Regions from separate parts of the Homo sapiens genome. Here region 2 is linked to region 1. Evidence: promoter capture Hi-C in 16 types of primary human blood cells and fetal thymus (Javierre and others, 2016). All regions are on one chromosome and are shown on one strand. The core of a region is centred on a gene start or on the middle of the fragment in contact, and the rest is flanking DNA. Distances in the headings are between cores, read along the strand shown. Region 1 holds the start of OTUD6A (OTU deubiquitinase 6A). Region 2 overlaps EDA (ectodysplasin A).

Region 1 (7,146 bases), core at 2,223-4,722:
CCAGTGAGGCTCCCTTCCCTATCCAGGCCCAATTTCCCAATTCCCTTCAATTCCCCTGGCCAGGCAGTTTGCCAGAGCCATTTCCCCATTCAATAGCCAAAGACCCGTTGCTACGAGGCATCTTGTCCCTTTGAGTTGCCCCCTGGTCAGCCTATTCCTCCTTGTATAGACAGTGACTCTTTCTTGACCCAGCCCCCTTTCCTGCCCTTCTCTCCACCCAACTCCACCCCTGCCAGGACCCCTTCCCCAGACTGTAGCCCAGTTCCCAAACAGCTTCCCTTCCCAAGCCAGGCCCCCTTCCTCTCCTTCTCCAGCCTGCCCCAGCTGGGCCACCTTCTCCTACCAGGAACCCTTCACCAGTCCATGCCCCAGCCTCCAGCCTGGACCCTTTGCAGGCATCCTCCCTCAGCCAGGACTTCTTTCCTAGCCTGTGCCCCCGCTACCCAGCTGGGCCTCTTTGTCCATGAAGGTCCCCTACCCTAGCCAGGCCTCTTCTTTTAGCTTGTCACCCCCTTCCCTGACCCTATGCAGCCCACTGAAGTAGAGCACCTTTCCCATTTCTAGAGCCCTTCAGCAGTCTTTGCCCCTGTCCCCAGTCAGCAACCACCACCCCGCCACCCGCAACAGGCCTATGCTCCCTAACCCTCCAGGATTCCTTTGCTTAAGTAGATCCTGGGATATAAACTCTATATGAAGTTAGCTACACAAAAACAGAGAAGCAGGTATTTTTTAAATGGTTTTTATTTTTGAACAAACTACATGTTTAAAAACTTTCAAAAACATATATATTTTATCTTAGAGCATTTGGAATGTAGAAAGAATTTCCAAAATTAATCTCACTGAATTACAGAAAGTAAAGATTAAAATTTTCATAAGTTGTTGACTGTAAATCATTTCATTTTATATTCTTTTGGAAAATTCAAGGATATTAACAAGTCTCAAATAACAAAAGTATATTGTTCACTTTTGATGTAACAAAATAGAATAAAACTTTAATATTTTAAAGAATCTTTTTAGATATTTCTGTATCTCTAAGAAATAAGGAAAGTTGTTACATTCATATCTTTCACACTTCATACCAGATGATATAACAAGGTCAATCAAGTACTTGAATAAATTCATACACCTTTATATCTCTAAGAATAAAGGAAACTTACTCGATTCAGATCTTCACCCCTTAGAGTAAGTAAATTACCTATCAATGTGTCTCTTTTTTCTTTATACCAGTTGTAAAGATAATGAAACGTATCAACTATTTGAATAAAGTCCTATCTCTTCCTACCTTTAGTAAAGGAAATTAAGTTCAGATCTTTCACATCTTAGAGTAAACCTTATCTAGCCTATCAGTTTATCTAAATTTACTTTATCTATTTAACAGATTTACCTTACATGTTTTAACAAATGCTGTTATTTAGAATTAGCAAACATGGGAGAAACTAAAATTAATTAGGAACCACACAAGTTTTGATGAAAAGAAAACAAAACAAAGTACTAGCGGATCTCTTGTTCATAACTTGAGACATCTCCTGAGTAGTCTAGCTTAAGTAAATAGCAAACCATGGCAATCTTTCCCCCCAAAACTCAGCAAAAGGCCTTCACAAGGCATTTTGATCACATAAACTCCAATTTTGTCTAAGTAATCCAAGACATTCATAGGAAAACCTGAAGACTCCCCGAGCTAGTCTACTAGATTTATTTTTCCCAGAACACATGAAACTTAACATTTCCTTTTTTTCTTTTTTTTTTTTTGGAGACGGAGTCTCGCTGTCTTCCATGCTGGAGTGCAGTAGTACGATCCCGGCCCACTGCAGCCTCCGCCTCCCGGGTTCAGTTGATTCTCCTGCCTCAGCACCCCAAGTAGCTAGGATTACAGGCCCCCGCCAACCTGCCTGGCTAATTTTTCATTTTTTTGAGACGGAGTCTCACTGTCTTCCACGCTGGAGTGCAAAGGCACGATCTCGGCTCACTGCAACCTCCGCTTCCCGTCAAGCGATTCTCCTGCCTTAGCCTCCCGAGTATCTGGGACTACAGGTGCCTGCCACCACGCCCGGCTAATTTTTGTATTTTTTGTAGAGGTGGGGTTTCACCATGTTGGCCAGGCTGGTCTCGAACTCCTGACCTCGTGATCCGCCCGCCTCGGCCTCCCAAAGTGCTGGGATTACAGGCGTGAGCCACCGCGCCCGGCCAATATTTCCATTTTTGTGGTGAAGTTATACGCAACATGACCAAATCTTAGTTGGTGAGGGAGGTAAAAGACCCTTAAGGGCAAGAAGAGGTTAGAACTTTCAAATTTATGCCCCTCTGGTGGTGCAATGCAGAGATTTCCCTCATATTTCCGGGGAATTTCCCTCGAATTTCGTTTCCCACCCTGTGAAAGCAGCAAGGTTAGGAAAGCGGGGGCGGGGCGGGGGCGGGTAGTTTTGATTAAAAGGAAGGAAAAGAAAAACAGAGAAAAGCAAAAGGGGAAAATAAACTGAGCCTACTGAGGAGATGCGGCGACGGCGACAGTTTCCCGGGGCTGCTCAGCGCCTTGGGGCCTACAGGAGACGCGGGAGCACGCCCCCGGCGGCGCCGGCCTCGAGCGGTGTCACGGAGTTGTAGTGCTCGCCGAGGCTGTAGGCATAGCGCAGGTAGACCAGGATGATCGGCTTCTTGACGTACTCCTCCCCGATGATCAAGGTGGGCGAGTCGGCCTGGATCACCTCGATGGGGGTCTTCAGGACGTGCGACAGGGCCCTCAGCTCCAGCTGGCCTCCCCATGCCGTGGTGCGCACGATGTTGTCGCAGTAGATCATGAAGTCGTCGTAGCCGAAGGAGTCGCTGGTCTCGGGGTTGCTGAAGAAGGGCAGGAACTCGTCGACGTGCTTCTTCATGTAGCTGGCGGTGCGGCAGCGCAGCATCTCCACAGACACGCTGAACACCAGCTGGTCTTGGATGGCGCGGTACATGCAGTGGCCGTCGGCCGGGATCGCTTTCATCTCCAGACCCCTGGCTCCCAGGATGGCGGCGAGCTTCTCCTCCTCCTCGCGCTTGAAGCCGGCCAGGTGCTCCGACATCTCAGCCTGGAAGATGCTCTCCTGGCGCTCCCTCTCCTCGGACTCCATTCTTTCTCTCTTTCTGTGGGCTTTGGAGGAGCGGGGAGGCCGGTTTTCCAGATTCATCTTGGCCAGGTCTTCGACGACAGATTCAATGCTACTGTCGTCTTGGAACTTCTCCAGCTCCTGCCGGTGCTTCTGAGCCATCTCGGCCTCCATGCGGGCCACGTCTTGGAGCAACTGCTTTCTTTTCGTCTTGTCGGTCTTGGGGACCGAGTTTTTTAAGCTCCGGATCTGGGCCTGCAGCTCCTGCCTCTCGCGTTGGTGGCGGCGCAGTATGCGCTGCTGTTCACTCTTCGGATCATCCATGATGTTGAATGGCAAGCGGGAGTTGAAATTTGCTGGCAGTTCAAGTACCGAACAGACCAGAAGTCCTCAGCCTGTCCTAACGGTCGCTCTCTTTCACCTCACCGGCTCTAACCGCCGCTCTAGGCTCACCTCAGCCTCCGCTTCCCCTCCCCCATTCGCATTCTTCTCTGCCTTTGGTCACTGTGTCTCCATGGCCACGCCCCCGCAAGTGCTAGGCCACTTGCTGGGCCACCCGCAAATGCCCAGTGCTAGGATTGGCTGTTGGGAGACCGGAAGTATGAGCCCATTGGACCCCACAGCAAAGGTTTTTGGCGGGATTCAAATATGGCCTTCCTGCAATGTGTGTGGCAGTTGGGCCTGTAGAGTCTTTCGCTGATTGAGAGCCGACTTCATTTCCAAGTCTGCACACAATGCAGGCAGTAGCCATGCCTGACAGCCACATGACAGATACTACACCGCTGAATGTGCTCTAACCCTGGACTTGGCATTGCCCCTACTGTTGAGGAAGCAGTGCGTTTTTCTCCAGTCTTTCAGGTCCCTTCACCAGGGAACCATTAACTTGTGCATCAGAACAAGGACATTTCCTTACATTCCTGCAAACACAGTCCTTTCAGTTTACTCTTTTTTTGAGGGGGGGGCGCGGGGAACGGAGTCTCGCTCTGTCGCCCAGGCTGGAGTGCAATGGTGCAATCTCAGCTCACTGCAACCTCTGCCTCCCAGGTCCAAGCGATTCTCCTGCCTCAGCCTCCCGGGTAGCCGGGACTACAGGCGCCTGCCACCACGCCCGGCTAATTTTTGTATTTTTAGTAGAGACGAGGTTTCGCCGTGTTGGCCAGGCTGGTCTTGGAACTCCTGACCTCAGGTGATTTACTCGCCTCGGCCTCCCAAAGTGCTGGCATGAGCCACTGTGCCCAGTCACAAGTTTTTATTTTAGCCATTTTGATAAGTGTGAAGTTCCCTGATGGCTAATGATGTTCCTTTTTTCATGTGCTCATTTGTCATCTATGCCATATCCTTTTCAGTAAAATGTTTATGTCATTTGCCTATTTTCTCTCTCTTTTTTTTGGGGGGGGTGGAGTCTAGCTCTGTCACCGAGGGTGGAATGCAGTGGCGTGATCATGGCTCATTGCAGCCTCAAACTCCTGGGCTCAGGCTCAGGTGATCCTCCTGCCTCAACATCCTGAGTAGCTGGGACTACAGGCACCACCATACTTGGCTAATTTTGGGGAATTTTTTTTTTTTTTTTTTTTTTGCCAGATGCGGTGGCTCACGCCTGTAATCCCAGCACTTTGGGAGGCCAAGGTGGGAGGATGTCTTGAGGTCAGGAGTTCCAGACCAGCCTGGGCAACATGGTGAAGCCCTAACTCTACTAGAAATACAAAAATTAGCCAGGTGTGGTGGTGTGTGCCTGTAGTCCCAACTACTCCTGGGGGCTGAGGTGGGAGGATAGCTTGAGCCTGGGAAGCAGAAGTTGTAGTGAGCCAAGATAGCGGCACTGCACTCCAGTCTGGGCTCAAGTGGTCCTCCACCTCTGCCTTCCAAAGTGCTGGGATTACAGATGTGAGACACCATGCTCAGCCCTTCATTTGCCTATTTTCTTTCTCTCTCTCTCACTCTCTTTCTTCCTCTCTCTCTCTCTCTTACTCTCTTTCTTCTTCCTTCCTTGGTTTCCTTCCTTCCTTTTTTTTTCTTTTTTTTTTTGAGACGGAGTCTTGCTCTGTCACCCAGGCTGGAGTGCAGTGGCATGATCTCGGCTCACTGCAGCCTCCAGCTTCTGGGTTCAAGCAAGTCTCATGTCTCAGCCTCCTGAGTAGCTGGGACTACAGGCGCACACCACCACACCCGGATACTTTTTGTATTTTTAGTAGAGACAGGGTTTCACCATGTTGGCCAGGCTGGTCTTGAACTCCTGAGTTCAAGCGATCCCCCTGCCTTGGCCTCTCAAAGTGCCGGGATGACTACACACACCACCATATCCAGCTAACTTTTTTTTTTTTTTTTTTTTTTTTACTTTTTGTAGAAACGGGGCCTCACTATGTTGCTCAGGCTGGTTTCGAACTCCTGGGCTCAAGCGAGCCTCTCACCTCAGCCTCCCAAAATGCTGAGATTACAGGCGTGAGCCACCGCGCCTGGCCAGGATTTTTGTAGGAATCGTGTTCAAGCTGAATATCAATTTGGGGAGAATTGACATCTTTACTATGTTGAGTCTTCCAGTCCTTGAACACCTGGGTATGTATCTCCATTTACGTAGATCTTCATTGATTTCTTTCAGTGACACTGCATGATTTTCAGCATATAAATCCTGTGCATATTTTGTTAGATTTACACTTAAGCATTTCTCTTTTTTTGAGTGATTGTAAATGGTATTGTATTTTTATAATGTGAACATTTACAATGTTCACATGGTCATTGCTAGTATATAAAAATACAATTGACTTTTTTTGTTTATCTTGTGTTCTGTGACCTTGCTTAACTAGCTAATTATTTCTAGGAGGTTTTTTCCCCCCTTGATTCCTTGGAATTTTCTATGTAGGCAATCATGTCATCTGTGAATAGGGACAGTTTTATTTCATCCTTTCCAGTAAGTATGTCTTTTATTTCCTTTTCTTGCCTTATAGTGCTGATTAGAACTTCCAGCACTATGTTGGATAAGAGTGGCAAGGGCAGACATCCTTGTTTTGATCTTGATTTTAGGAGGAAAAGAATTTCATCTTTCACTGATAAGTATGATGTTAGCTGTAGGATTTTGTAAATGTTATTTATCTAGTTGAGGCCTTTCCCATCTATTCCTATTTTTCTGAGAGTTTTTGACATGAATGGGTATTAAATGTTGTCAATGTTTTTTCTGTATTGATATGCCAATATGATTTTTCTTCTATAACCTATTAATATGATAGACTATAGTGATTGATTTTTAAGTATTAAGCTAGTCTTGCATTTCAGAAATCAACCTGATTTGGTCATAGTTTATCATTATTTTTATATGTTGAGGAATTCTTTTGGTAATTTAAAAAAGGATTAAAAAAAATCTATGTTCATGAGAGGTATTGGTCTGCAGTTTTCTTTTTTGGTACTGTTTTGTTTAGTTTTAGTGTCAGGGTAAATACTAACTTCACAAGAAGAGGAGGGAAGTGTTCCTTCCTCTTCTATTTTTTTGGAAAGAGATTGTGTAAAATCAGTAATAATTCTTCTTTAAACATTTGATAGGATTCTCCAGTGAAACCATCAGGGCCAAGAGATCACTTTCTTGGGAGTTTTAAAATTAAAAAAAAGTTTTCCTTAATAGGACTAATCAAATTATATATTTCATATTGAGTGAATTTTGGTAGCTTGTGTTTTTTGAGGAATTGGTCCATTTATTCTGAGTAGTCAAATTTATGTGTGCAGAATTATTTGTAGTATTCCATTTTTATTGTTTGATGTTGGGAGGATTTATAGTGGTATTCCCTGCTTTATTGGTAATTTGTGTTTCCTCTTTTGTTCTTTGTCAGTCTTGCTAAAGATTTGTCAATTTTATTGATCTTTTCAAAGAACTAGCATGTTGTCTTATTGATTTTCCCCATTGATTTTCTGTTTTAGATTTCATTAGTTTATGCTATTTATTATATTCTTCCTTCTGCTTGCTTTGGGTTTAGTTTGCTCTTCTTTTGCTAGGTTCTTGAGGTGGGAGCTTGAATAATTGCTTTCAGACTTTTTCTCTTTTTCCAAAGTATACGCTTAGTGATATAAACTTCCTTCTCAG
Region 2 (7,146 bases), core at 2,943-5,442, 440 kb after region 1:
GAGTTTAAAGGGAGTTTAGACAAAGCTGAAGACAGAATTAATGAATTGGAAGTTAAGTCACAGGAAAATATCCAGAATGTAAGATTCTAAAAATATGCATCCATGTGTTCTTCTAGGATGTCTGTGACTTCATGTTTTACATGTAAATCTTTGTTCCATCTGGAATTTATTTTGGTATAAGAGGTGAGATAAGGATCCAGTTTTACTTGTCTTTTTTTTTAAACCCCCAAAATGGCAAGTCAGTAAATCCCAATACTACTTATTGAATTAATCTACCTTTCATGGGAGTCCTTTAAATAGAAACTTCTCCATGCACATTTTAAATGGTCCAGTTGATACAAGTTCTATATATGGTTTATAAAATTCCTATTTAAAACACAGTTCCAGAAATAGCTATATGATTGCAGACAGTTATTTAACCCCTCTGGGTCTGCTTCTCCACATGTAAAAATAGAGACACGGCAATATCTACCTTGCATTGTTCCTGTGAAGATTTTTTGAAAATAAAGTATGTAGATGCAACTGTCTCAAAAAAAAAAAAAGAAAAAAAAGAAAATACCTAGAATGAAGTATAGAGAGAAAAAGAAGGATAGAATACAGAGAAAAGTATGTAACAGACATAAAGGATGCTGAGAAAATGTCTAAAATAGGTTTGCTATGGTCTGAATGTTTGTGTTCCCCCCAAAATTCATATGTTGAAATATCATCACCAATGTGATGGTATTTGATGAGGCTTTTAGGGGGCAATTAAATAATGAGGGCAGAGCCCTTGTAAATGAGATTAATGTCCTTATAAAATAGGTCCAAGGAAGTGCATTTATCCCTTCCACCACGTGAGGATACAGCAAGAGTGTGTCATTCTATGGATCAAGAAGAAGGCACTCACCAAACACCAAATCTGCTGGGCATGTTCATGGATTGGAAAACTGAATACCATAAAATGGTGAGTTCCCTCTAAATTGATTTTTAGATGCAATGCAATCCCAATAAAAATCTCAGCACGTTTCTTTTTTGTGGAACATGACAAGCTGATTCTAAATGCAAAGGGCCAAGAATATCCAAGATACTTTTAAATAAGAGGAACAAGGTGAAAGGAGTTGCTTTACCAGGTAATAATAAAGTCCAGTAATTAAGATTGTGGTAGTGATGTAATGACAAAGAGACCAACAGAATAGAATAAACAGTTCAGAAACAATCTTGCATATATACAGGCACCTGATTTATGACAAAGGTGATGCTATAGAGGACTGGGGGAAAGACAGTCCTTATAATTAATGGTACTGGATCAGTTGGATATCTATATTTTAAAAAATGAAGCTTAGTTTCTGTATCTTAGCATACACAAAAATCGATTTCAAGTGGAGTATAGACCTAAATGTAAATGTCAAAAACATAAAGCTTCTAGAAGATAATATGGGAGAATATCTACAATTTCAAGGTAAGAAAATATTTCTTAAATGGGACACAGAAAACACTATCCATAAAGGAAAATACTAAAAAATTAAACACATTAAAATTAAAAACTTCTGTTCATCAAAGGATACCATAAAGAAAGGTAAATCACAGATTTGGGAATGGCTTACAACATAAAAAATACAAAAATAGTTCATATTCAGAGTATATAAAGAATTCCTACAAATCTATAAGAAAAAGACAGACTAATAGAAAAATGGGCAAAAAACTTGTATAGGCATTTCACAGAAGATATGCAAATGCATAATAAACATGAAAAAGAGCACAACCTCATCAGTCTTCTGAGAAATGCCAATTAAAATCAACGGATATTACTACAAAGCCACCCACCAGAACAGCTATGGCTAAAAAGACTGGCAATACCAAGTGTTAGTAAGAATGTGAAACAGCTGAAATTCTCATACATTGCTGGTGAGCATGTAAATTGATACAATGACTTAGAAAAACTGTCATTATCAATAATGTCAAAAATATGCATCCTCCATGACCCAGCAACTCTGATCTATACAAGCAATAGAAATTCAAGCATATGTAACCAAAAGACATGTATAATAATATTCACAACATCAGCATCCGTAATAGCCCCAGACTGGAAACAATCCACAAATTCATTAAAAATAGAGTAAATAGACTGTGGTATATTCGAGCAACGAAATAATATACAAAAATACAAATAAATGGCTGGGCATGGTGGTTCACATCTGTAATCCCATCACTTTGGTACACTGAGGTGGGAGTATTGCTTCAGGCCAGGAGTTCAAGACCAGTCTGGGCAACATAGAGAGATCCTGTCTCTATAAAAAAATTAAAAATGAGCCTATAAAAAATTAAAAATGAGGCATGGTGGCATGTGCCTGTGGTCCCAGCTACTCAAAAAGCTGAGGTTGGAAGATCGCTTGTTCCTGGGAGGTTATGGCTGCAGTGAGCTGTGATCATGCCACTGCACTCCAACCTGGGTGACAGAGCAAGACTCTGTCTCACACACACAAAAAATACAAATAAAAAACTACAGCCACAAGCAACAACCTGAATGGATGTCACGAAAACAGTATTGAGCAAAAAACACCAGATCCAAAAGAATACACACTGTTTGATTTCATTTATATAAAGTTCAAAATGAACAAAACTAATAAACTAATCCAACTAGCACTATGTCAGGCACTATGGAGAAAGATAAAAAAACTAATCTATGATGTCAGAACTTGAGAGAGTGAGGAGGATATAGTGATAACAATAGGGTGTAAGGAGGAGTTGTGGCATATAATAATGTTCTATTTCTTGACCTGGGTGCTGGTGACGTGAGTATATTCACTTTGTAATGATTCATCAAATTGTACAAATATGATTTATATACTTTTCTGTGTATGAGTTATACTTCAATAGAAAAGATTTTTAATAAAAGAAAGAAATGAAATGAAAAGCTAAGTCCTGAGTATTTACAGAGGAGTTAGATAAAATGGTCCTCTACAGGCAAGGTGGTTTCTCTTGGTAATGTTCTTGGGAATTAAATGGCTTCAGAGGTTCTTTACTTTAAAGAGATCTTCTCTATAAGGTAGTTACAGATAAATTACAGATTATTTTTTCACAAGATCTAAGATAGAAAGAAAGACATGAGACCTAAAAGCAAATAAAACAAAACATCAAACAATATATTACAGGAAGCTTTTTGCACCATTTTAGAGAGAAGGTGTGAAACTGGGAGACTGACCACGTGGTTAAGGCTCTTCTCCATTTCACTTTCTAATTATTCTAGAAATCAGTGAAACATTTCCAGTGGAACTATTTACTCACCTAAGCATAGCTGACAGGTCACAGGCTTAGCAAGACCTGAGGAAAACAGGCCTGTTATAGAAAGAGAAAATGTCTTTGTTTCACATAAACACCTCCAAAGTCCCAAAATAATATTCAACTCAACAAGTATTTGAGTACAGTAACTGTAACTAGCACTGTGTCAGGCATTATGGAGAAAGACAAAAATGAAGGCAGATTTCTAAGGAGCTCTAATGTAAAGACATAAAATGTATTTGAAAACAACAGCAATAACAACTAAAGAATGATTCTAAGACAGGATATGATGGGTGGGTTGCAGCAGAGTTAGTGAGAGAGAAAATGCGATGGGAATAATGAAGCAAGTTGATCAAAAGTTCTGTATTCAAACCCACAGTAAAGGTATTTTATCTAGATCCCACCTCCCTAAAAAAAAAAATCCTTGGATTTATTCATTGTGCTCACCTTGAATCACCTCGAATGATTCCTAGTTATGTTCTTGATCGAAGAGCCTTAACACAGGTAATGTCAACTCTGGATACACTAATGGTCTATCTAGTTATGTCAAGCAATGTTTTGTAGAACTTTAAGGTTGACATCTATGACATCACTTCAAATAATTAGGAACATACTCCAAATAGCCCTAACAGTTCTAAGTAAATCTGTATTGATCTACCCATAATTTTGACTATTACTTGAGACAATGAGTTGAATAAGATACTACCTTTATTTGCCTCCTCTTGAAAATAATTTTTCAAACATTAAAAGGTGTCTAATACTTAACATTGTGTCTGGCACAGCAGGCTTTCTATTTATTGAACTGGATTGTTACGTTACACCAATATATTAATCATATTCATCTCGCTCATGGTTTGGTAGACTTTGATCATATTCCTCCTTCAACCTCTTTCTATCCAGACTGAAAAACCAACTAGAAAATCCCTTCATCCTTTTGATCAATTTAATGGGGTTTTTGAGGACTTTTATCAGCTGTTAGGCTTTTCTTGAGGAGCAGCCACCAGAATTTCCTGTCTGATTGTAGAAGCCAATCTGCTTTTGATCTTGTACATGGAAAAAATAAGTGTTTTGTAAGTGGTTTGTTTTGTTGTTTTTGACACCCTTCCTGATGATACCCACTACATTCTTGGCCTTTGAGGACCACAATCACAACCGGCGCAACATCTCCACAGAATGATCAACAGTGATTTTTAGTTTTTTACTCTGACGATCATATTACTGTATATTGTCCTAATTCAGACACAAATGAGATATCCCTTGCTCTTGAGATAATCTCCACCAACTATCCAGACAAATCTCAGCTACTTGGTTGCTCCAGCTGAAGGAGATGATTGATTACGGAAGGTCTGATGTGACTCTCTCACTTCATCATCAGCAAGTGTGTCCCCACCAGGGAGACTTTTCTAACATTTCACATGGAGAACTGTGCTGATCTCTCTGCTCTGTATCCTACCTGCCCTAACTTCCTTGTGTGCCCTGCTTAAAAAGTTTTTAAATTGACAGATGATATACATACATCTACAGTGATTTCCAGGTCCCTTTCTTGAGTCATAACTGAGAGCCCAGAGCCCATCATCTCATAAGTATGGATAGGTTTACTTTTGCCTACCTGCATGAAGTGTCTCTGACTGTTCTGCCCACTTGGTCTCATGAGAGCTTCCTGCAGTTTACTCTCATCAGCTTGCCTTCACTCCTTACAGATAAACTGGTAAGAAACCTGAATGTACTGCCCGTTGAAGGGTGTATATTTTTATCTTTCTTCCTCTCCATCCAAGATTTGCTGTAACAGCAGTTGTTTGTGTTTAAAAACTAAAATATAAAAATATGACCTACGTGGCCAAATCCCACAAGGCTGTTTACTTCCTTATTTACTGAATCAGAATCTGTCAGCACAATGTAGAATTCTGAGTGTCAGCAGATACTGAAAATTAAATGTCACTGTAAAGCCAGCAGAGGGTGCACCAGGGCACTAGAAATTTTAACCAAGCTTGTAGCAGTATTAATTTAATACCCAATCAACTTTTTTAAAAAGTTATTTTTGTATACTAAAACTAATATACAAGATAAGATAAACTTAAGTTGAACAACTTAAAATAAACAAGTTGAATTTGGGCTAAAATTCCTTCAAAGTATACTCCAAATCTGAAAGTGAAGTTCAGGAAGAATAAGGAACACACGGTTAAACTTACTGTGGTCAAAATACAGGCAGAGTAGAACAAAATGATGCAGAGCTGAGCCCTCTACTTTGCAAAAGTTCTAATGTGGAGCTCCATCTTGCTCCCTCGCAAAAGGTCCCAGGAGGTAGTTGGGGGAATGGGCACCCAACTAGGAGTTAGAGCAACTATCATCCCAGTTTTGACTCTAGTTATGTGACCTTGGGCAAGTCACTTTCCCTTTAGGGCCTATGTTTCCCAAGGGAATCAAACGAAATGGACTCATATAAGCCCTTCATAACTCTAGGAAACTGATTCCAATTGATGTCAACAAATGTAAAGAGCTAGTATCCTTGCTTCTATTGCTCAAAAATATTAAAACAGAAAGAATAAAAGACAGAAGATAGGAAGCTGTGTTTAAATCTAGACAGAACTATTTTAGTGCCACACAAAGGGTAGGTAACTAAATGCCATTATACACCTGTAAGAGTTTCATGCCATCACAGAAACCTTACAGTACAGCTGTTCTGCTAATCCTCAGTCTATAAAAATGGCTCTGTCCATCCTGAATGCCAAAAAGTATTGGCCAACATTTGATTAAAGAAGTTTAATTCTTTCATCTTTTCACAGAATATCAATGTTCAGCTGCTAAATACTTCTGCTGGGCATTGGGGTGTGGGGGGAGTGGCAGTAGATAAATAAAGGAGTCAGAATCCTAGTTAATTATCGTTTAGCTACAATGTTTAAAGTTTCAAGTATGAGAAGCATGTCTGCTGATTCTCTTCTTTGATAAGCTGTTATATAAATTGGAGTGTGCTAGTAAGACATTTTAAGGCTCAGGGCAACTTTACAATGCACATCTTTTTTTTTTTTTTTAAGTATCAGTCCTAACATTACACTATTATCATGAATATGATGTCTCTATCAAGCGTACCACTTTAGATGGGAGGTCAAAGTGGCACAAATAATGTTTACAGAGTTGTGACAATGACTCTGGATGTGGCAGTAAATATAGAAGGCTTGGGTCCCTCACCTCAAGGAACTTATTTGTACAACTTGCTCTCTTCCCTAAGAGGTACAATTTTATTATTATTCTTTAGCCACCTCGAAAGGATCCTTGGATGCTTCTCCTAAGTTTCACATATGGCAACCAAGACAGTATTTACGTTAAGTGAACGAAATTTACTTGAATAAAAAGCTAGAAAGAATAGAATAGAAAACAAACACCAAAGCTAATAGTTTGCTTATTAGGGCACAAACACCATAAAGATTGCAAAAACAAACAAAACTGCTCTTGGGGGACGAGTCCTGAGTAATTATTCCATTGGCAGATTCCCGTTCTCAAGCTAACAGTAGTAAAAGCGCTTCCCACCCACCCTTCCCACCGCACACCTACCCCGCTTAAGAATCAGAACCGGCATGCAAAGGGTGAGTTTTATTTCCATAGATTTTTAAAATTGCTGTTCAGAAGTTGTCTAGCAAGACGGCATATTTCTACCAGAATTCCTCAGGGGCGCTGATCCTCACTAGAACGCCGAGGACAATCAGTCTCAAATTGCAGGTAAGTGTGAACAAGCCCACGTTCTGGTCAGCGCACAAGGACCCGCGCTGAAAATGCGGTTAAAAGTTGTTTCAACGGGCGGGCGTGGAACAGTTATTACAGCTGTTTACAGCTCCAACTCCAAAGGGGAGCCTGCTGGTTCTGGCATCAGCTCTAGACACGAAAAAACAAGCA

The links. Contacts are between HindIII fragments. The CHiCAGO score rates a contact against its expected background, and 5 or more counts as called.
Region 2: a contact is called between a fragment that was not itself captured here and the fragment with the promoter of OTUD6A in region 1, in 1 of 17 cell types (M2 macrophages). The highest score is 5.0, in M2 macrophages.

Annotation. Positions count from the first base shown.
Region 1 is chrX:70,058,783-70,065,928 of GRCh38, reverse strand. It overlaps OTUD6A (OTU deubiquitinase 6A), which reads right to left and starts at 3,472. Exons shown (of 1, transcript NM_207320.3): 1 at 1,750-3,472. The coding sequence starts at 3,404. The coding sequence ends at 2,538. The HindIII fragment of the contact is 21,287 bases long and covers 1-7,146 here.
Region 2 is chrX:69,617,065-69,624,210 of GRCh38, reverse strand. The region is part of intron 1 of EDA (ectodysplasin A); the gene reads right to left. Among named protein-coding and RNA genes, the nearest start is that of EDA, 4.5 kb to the right of the region's middle. The HindIII fragment of the contact is 2,110 bases long and covers 3,138-5,247 here.